Linked DNA regions of Homo sapiens: region 1 is linked to region 2. Evidence: promoter capture Hi-C in human tissues and cell types (Jung and others, 2019). All regions are on one chromosome and are shown on one strand. Each heading gives the region's core, a stretch centred on a gene start or on the middle of the fragment in contact. The rest is flanking DNA. Distances are from core to core; before and after follow the strand shown. Region 1 has its middle 46 kb from the start of DDIT4L. Region 2 holds the start of DDIT4L (DNA damage inducible transcript 4 like).

Evidence for each region. Contacts are between HindIII fragments. The study calls those that stand out against the background at their distance.
Region 1: a contact is called between a fragment that was not itself captured here and the fragment with the promoter of DDIT4L in region 2, in 1 of the 25 tissues and cell types used here (hippocampus).

What each region holds. Positions count from the first base shown.
Region 1 is chr4:100,234,324-100,237,663 of GRCh38, reverse strand. No RefSeq gene overlaps it. Among named protein-coding and RNA genes, the nearest start is that of DDIT4L, 46 kb to the right of the region's middle. The HindIII fragment of the contact is 5,734 bases long and covers 1-3,340 here.
Region 2 is chr4:100,188,374-100,192,154 of GRCh38, reverse strand. It overlaps DDIT4L (DNA damage inducible transcript 4 like), which reads left to right and starts at 1,687. Exons shown (of 3, transcript NM_145244.4): 1 at 1,687-1,852; 2 at 2,123-2,262. The coding sequence starts at 2,172. DDIT4L-AS1 (DDIT4L antisense RNA 1) reads right to left here and starts at 2,122. Exons shown (of 5, transcript NR_125924.1): 1 at 2,081-2,122. The HindIII fragment of the contact is 5,141 bases long and covers 1-3,781 here.

The sequences.
Region 1 (3,340 bases), core at 372-2,871, 46 kb before region 2:
CTACTCAAGGTCATCTTTATGTAACCTCTTCCCAGACCCCACAGTAGGTTCCAGACAGTATTGGAATTGAAGCTGTTTCATGATCTTTCATTATTTGTCTTTAGCTGTGATTAAGAAGTAACATAAGAACTCCTAAGAAAAAGATATTACCATTGCGTTTTAAGTCATCGTTTTGATTAAGTGACTTAGTGCCATGTTAATGCAATATTGTTGACTCAAGATCAACTGTGTGAAGCTCAGCTTTTGTCTTATCAAGTTCCATGTATTCTGTGCTTTCAAAGCCGTCACTCATTACACCGTTGTTGCCAAAATCAATTCACACAACTTCTAATTTTACATATGCTAAGCTAAAAACAAAGTGGCATACCAATCAGGAAATCCTGACTACAGATGTACTGAAAATGAAGGGTATACCCAGTGCATTTGGTTGCTGAAAAGGAATGTTCCAAGTTGCTACTGCCTGCTGAAGATTAAAATGCTCTGCAAATGTACTGACACTTCCTCCTTCCACCTTCGCTGGTATGACTGATTGTTTCCATCTCAGAAAAGATAATGAAGAGCAATCAGACTGGGTCTCTTAGTAGGAACACGGACAATTTTTTCCACTTTGTCTACCCAGCAGATGAAATAGATATTGGACTTGGGCATGTAACTAATGAAATGAGAACAACAGACTTTAAGAGTATGAAAGGAAAATCCTGGGGCCCCAAAATTACTAAACCAAGGGAAAAGTTAAGCTGGGAGTGGCTCAGGACAAACTTGCCTTTCATTCTATTCAAAGTCATCCCTTTGCTCACTGAGACAGATGTATATTCTGATTGCTGCCTTTGGAAAGGCTTAGTAGAAACTCAAAGAATGCAACTGTTTGTCTCTCCCCTACCTGTAACCTCCATGGAAGTATCCTCCCTGTTTTAAGTTGCCCCTGCCTTTCTGGACGGGACCAATGTACTTTTTAAATATATTGATTGATGTCTCATGCTTCCCTAAAATGTATAAAACCAACCTGTGCCCCAACCACCTTGGCCACATGTCATCAGGACCTCCTGAGGCTGTGTCATGGGCATGTGTCCTTGACTTTGACAAATAAACCTCCTAAAATGATTAAGACTTGTCTCATCATTTTTCTCAATTGACATCTGGTAACCATGAAGGAATTCTGAGTAAAGATGACCTGGTCTGCAGCCGCTCGTCTATCAGTGTTTGGTACTGGCTTGGGCACCTATAGCCCAAACTGATAGGACAATTGCTGAAGCCCAGGAACTCTTTCCTTCAGGGATCCCTGATCTTCCAACTTTTTTTTGTTGGGGGTCTGAGGTTTATTTGCTGTTAAAAAACTCCTTTTGGGGGGAGTTTCTACTCTTTTCCATCAAGGAAGGCAAGCCTGCCTCTGCATCAGCAGAGAGCGATTTTGAGCTTGGGCCCCATTACTAGGTAAAAAAATCGGTTTGGGATTCTGTCTCGAAAATTCTTTTTAAACGATTAAAGTTAGCATTAACAACCAGCTGATGTTAATTTCTGCTTACACATAGAACACTCAAAAATCTTATAATTTGTGTAATCATTGTTGGTTTTGCTTAACTATTTTTTTGTTTGTTTCTGTCTTGTTGGGGTTTTTTGTGCATGTGCTTTGGTCCTTTCCCTTATAGAGTTCAACCAACTCCAAACCCTCTAGCACATGAGTGTGGAATCTTCCACTTGGAAGAACTAAGAGCACCTTGCTCCCCTCAGCCTTTCAAGGCATTTTCAGGCGACTGAGAATCACGTGAGGGTGTCTGGGAGGAATGCTTCCTAAGACATGCAGCCGCTCTAAATAGGATTCCTCCTCAGAAAAATGTATTTAGGGTCTAATCTCAACCAGCAGGTGCATATAAGGAGCTGACCCCTCCCACAGCTTTAGCCCCTGACATACTGTGCCAGGTAGCCACAACATGGGTGGACCAAACCAGTTCAAGGGGTAACGGCCCTGAAAAGCTAGGCCTGTGAGCAGCACATTTTGGGTCCAACACCTGTACCAACTTGGTCAAATTCAAAGGTGAACTCTTAAATAATGGGGAGAAAGGTCTCTAAAGTGGCTAAATACCCACAAAAAAAAGGTGGTATGGTGGGGGGAGGAAAATGGCCAGCAAAAGGAAACAAAAAAGAGGAAAGCTTTTGGTTTTGACCACTAAAGGTACTTTCTTTATATAACAAGGCCCCTTTTTGCCAGCCAGACCAAACTGAAAGAGCAAGAGCTGTACTTCTGAAATAGCAGCATTTTGTCCTAGCTGAAATATGGAGATGATATTTCAAAAGTTTTTTTTTTTTTTAAGGAACTCAATGGTTAAAAGTCAAGATGTGTAAATGTGTGCATATTTGTATTTAAAAAGCCTTCATGTTTTGGGGTTTTTCTGTTTATTTTTCTCTCCTAGAACCTTGCCTTTTTTTGAGCAAAAAAATATTTTTCTTCTCAGTTAACTGAATTCTATTTTCACCTGACTTTTTGACTAAAATAGTTATTGCAACAGAGGCTACTCTTGGGTTTTATAATGAAGAGTGTAATTTAGACACTCAGAAGCACCTTTACTTAAAAAAAAAAATTACGTGCACTGAAAAAGCATCACATGGTCTAACCTCAAAATAATTATCATTTTTTGAAGACCCAGGATTCAGTGTGGGCTCTGCCAAGAGCTCAGAGATCCAGTTAAAAAAAAAAAAATAGGTAGTCTCTATCTAAATAAAATTGGTCTCCTTTTACAATCCATTGATAAATTTATATAATTTTATGTTTGATTGGCTAAAAGAAAAATAAAATCATCTCCTTCTGACTACCCTATTTTTATGAATTCGAACAGACCACCAGACTTTTTCTCTCTGTACCTTATGATGCAAATTTTTCTATTTGATTTTCACCTGAGTTGTTTCCTTTAATATGCAAATTTAAGGCTATTTAGCTGACAACTGCCTAGGGTTGTGGAACAGGTTATCAAGAATTGGGAAGTCTAAAATAGGAAAAAACAAAAAAGGATCTTTATGAATCTGTAAGATGTACTTCTATCCACATGCCTGATATGTCTATGCATTTATGTGTTGTGTACACAATGTTTCACTACTGAAAATACATAAAAGAGCTCTAATTAATTGGTTCAAGAAAAATAAAAGCACTTGAATCAAATACTTTATCAGGAATAAAGAAAAGACTAGTCAAATGTTTTTTCAATTTTATATAACTTAAGTAAAATCTTTAATAATAAGCTAGCTTTAAAATTATTGGTAAAGTAATATTAGAAATGTCTTAAGAATTGCCAGCATACATTTTTGTTTGCATTTATTAATCAAGGAATTTCATACTTATCCCTGCCAA
Region 2 (3,781 bases), core at 438-2,937:
ATTAATTCTAAAAATCCTCCTTGGAGGCAGGTTAAGTGGCAGCCTCATTAGTAATGCTGCCCAGACAAGGACAAGAGGCTCTGTGGCCTGCCCAGGGACTGACTGTCAGGCGGCTGGCATCCAACTCCTGACCATGGGCCCATCCATTGGTCCTGAACACCCTAGCCACTGAAACCGCTTTTTAATTGGCTTAAATGGGCTTGTTTATTTTCCACTTTTCTGTTTATTGAAGTAGAAGTGGAAACTGGCCTTCAAAGACCAGTCTATCAGCATCTCCTTCCTTGGCTCGCCTGACCTTCAGGCAGTGCAGCTGCCTGAACTGAGTTAAAAATGGACTGTCAAGCTGGCTTTAATTTCTGCTGCTCTGCGTCCGAATGTCCTCCCACTGATCTGTTTATCACACCCTCTATACCCCTTCTGTTGTTGTTTTTCTAAGAGTTTTATGCCAGGACAGCTGAAACTGCCTTTCAAGGTTCTAACCTGCAAATCCTTCTACACATAATCCTAGAGGGCCTGGGAGCCAACACTGGGATCTCTACTGTAGGAACAACCTTCTCCCTCCAGGCATCCCCTAACGCACCCCAAGCTGACTCTCTGAACAGATCATCTCCTACTGGCACACCAAAGCGAGAAAACCGTGGCTTAATAACTTTGGAAGAAAAAAATCAGGTTTGGCTTCTTGCTCATGGGCTATGCGGGCATGTTGCCTCTTTCCAGGGCTCCTCTGCCTCTCTGTGTGTTCCTGTGCAGGACCGCACGGAGCCCTCACAGGGATTATCTGCTGATCCCCAGCAGAATATAAAACTCTTTATCTTCAGTCTCTGAAACCTCTTCAAAATATCCCAAACCAAAGATCCTCCCAACAGGGCTCGCCAGAAACTTCTGCCTCCGGAAATGACAGTTGCTCTCGATGCACGGATAGAGGAGTACCTAAGATCCTACTAATGGTATTGTGTGTTTCTTGGCAAACTCCCGCTCAATTCAAGCTCCCCGCGCTCTGGGGCAAGGTCTAATTAGAAGAGTGCCAGGCTCACCCTTCCTGCGAAGAAAACGCATTAGCCACAGATGTAAGTGCACGAAGAATGCCAGGGAGCCACGGAGTGCGTGGGGTCATTAAGGCCCTTCTTAAAATGCTGGCGAGCCTTCGATGCGGGAAAGGAAAACTAGATCTGACCGCTTGCAGCAGAGGAGGATACAGAAACCCTGGGAGGCAGAGTAGAGTTGACTGGGTTAGAGGCCAGAAATAAGTGCATAAATGATGCTCAGTGGACGTTGCAACAGATTTAAGCCAAGTGTTCAGGATGACACAGCAAAGCCCCAGGACAAGGAAATGCACAGATCGCTTAAAGCTTCCCGCTGCCGGGAGCAGCCTGAGTGTGAAAGCGCGGACGCTCGGGGAGGGGTCGCACTGAACAATCAGGTTCAGGCTTTGACGAGTCGTGCACCCGGAATTGCGGTCCCAGTGGCCCGAGATCTACCCTGGAAGCAACAGGTGTCCGCTCTACCACAGGCTTATCCTCAACTCCCTGTGGCTAGGCTCGGGCTCCCTGGAAGTGTAGAGGTTGAAAGGGGACCAGACTCTGGAGGGGAGGGGCGGGGCGCTGGCCGGGGAGGGGCGGTGCAGGTGGGCGGGCCTGAGCAGGGTGGGGACTGGACCTATAAAGTTCTCGCTGCCCCGGAGGCTATGCTACTGCGAGGAGCCGGCGCAGGGTGGCCCGGGAGGGGTGAGCAGGGTGCCGCTGGCTGCTGGGGTCTGCAGGTCACCGAGTCCCCAGGAGAGGGGACTCCTAAGAAGCCACCTGCCTGTGTTTACCCGGCAGCGAGCGCGCAGGCCCCCGCGAACTCCTGGCAGGTGAGCGAAGCTGCGGCCTTGGTGGGGGCAGCGGGGCCGGGGGGCGCTCCGCGGGGCAGGTCGCTTCCAAGTTTTGCGAACTGTTGAGTTAGTTTCAGGTTGCGGCTCCGCTCCCAGGGCTTTGTCAAATTGAGTTGCAGAGGCCGGTTCCACCCCTTTGGCAAAGGAGTTCCTCCGCTAGTTCGCTCCCGGGACGCCGGGCATTTTAGGAGCCTCTGCACGACTCGCCTGCTTTTGCAAATCCGTCTCTTCTCGCCTCATTTTTTCCAGCGCTCAGGAAAGGCCGTTGCGCCTCGCGAAGGAAACAGAGCCGTTGACCATGGTTGCAACTGGCAGTTTGAGCAGCAAGAACCCGGCCAGCATTTCAGAATTGCTGGACTGTGGCTATCACCCAGAGAGCCTGCTAAGTGGTGAGTGTCCCCGCTGTCCACCCTTCTCCCCTCCCAAGGTCGGTGCCTCTGGATCTATTGGGTGGGCGGGCTTTCGACTTCCTCCCCTACCTCTATGTAGGAGGTGCCACAAAATCCATCTGAGGAGACTCCTTTCCAAATTTTCTAACATCTTCTCTCCATGATAGAAACAAAAGTAGCAAAAGTAGAATACCCGAGGGCTGCATCTTTCTAGTCTGGTGCCAGTAGGCCCCTTGGGATTAAGTTCCTTATCTTACATGATTGTGAAGAACACAGTTATGTGTGTTTTAGCAAATGTATTTACCCTGTAATCAATATCGCCCCTCCCCCTGAATTCCGACGCACCTATTTGCCAGGTATTCCTCACTCTCCCCTGACTCCAGGGAACTACTGATCTGATTTTTATCATTCCAAGTTAGTTTTGCCTTTAGGTAAGTGGAACCATACAGTAGGTATTCTTTTGTGTCTGGTTTCTTTCCCGCAGCCTAATGTTTTTGAGATTCTTTTATGTCCGTTGCTTAAATCAGTGTGTTCGTGTTTATTGTTTATTACTGAGTAGGATTTTCAGTCGTGGATATATCCATTATTCCATTTTTAATGTGAGAAGGAAACTGTTGAACAGCAGCGGTGCTTGACTTGCTGTCATTTGGAATTTTAACAGCAGTTTCTAGGTGAACACACTGCTCTGACACTAAAGAGCTGTAAGAGCATAGATAAACTGCTTAAGCTCTTCGTGTTTTTCTCCTTTCAAGGTGAAGTGGTTGATGACCTAATTTACAGGCCAGAACTCCAAACTTACACGAAGTGGAGAGGAAAAGCCAGTGGCTGATGAAGGTGGAGTAGGCTTAGAGAGAGGAGCTGGGAGGGCATCTGCCTGCACCTTGTTCATTTGACTCCGTGTGGTGTGGCATCCTGCCAAGGGGTAGGATTAATTTGAGGTGTAGGTGACCAAATGCAGAGCTATCTCTTTTCCTTTGAGCCCAGCTAATTTTATTTCCCTAGGACTATTTTGTTTTGCTTGGCTAAGAAAAACCACCCAGCCGGTTACAAATATCCTCATGAACCTCAAAGGTCTTCTCTGCACAATTTTTAATTAAAGAGGCTAAAGCTAAAATTGGGACCTACAGGCCACTCCAGTAAAGACTTAAAGACACAAATTTGATAGATCTTTAATATAACTCTTAAAGCTTTAATACAACTCTTCAAACATAATAGTAAAAATTCTTTATTTTACAATACATGTATTCCTACAGTTAGAAAGTAACAACCCCTTAGTCCAAAAAACAAAGTTATAACTTTTTATTCCAGAAGTAATGCATGTTTTCTGTAAAACAAAATTAGAAAACCCCCATAAGCAAGTAGGAGAAAAGAAAAGAAAATCACCAATAATCTGGGATAATCACAAGTAGATTTTTGATGCATAGTCTTCACGGTTGTGTGTGTGTTTTGTGTACACACATAAATTTAAAGAAAAGTGGTTACATCCTATCTACTCTATTTATCTAAACCTTTATTTCAT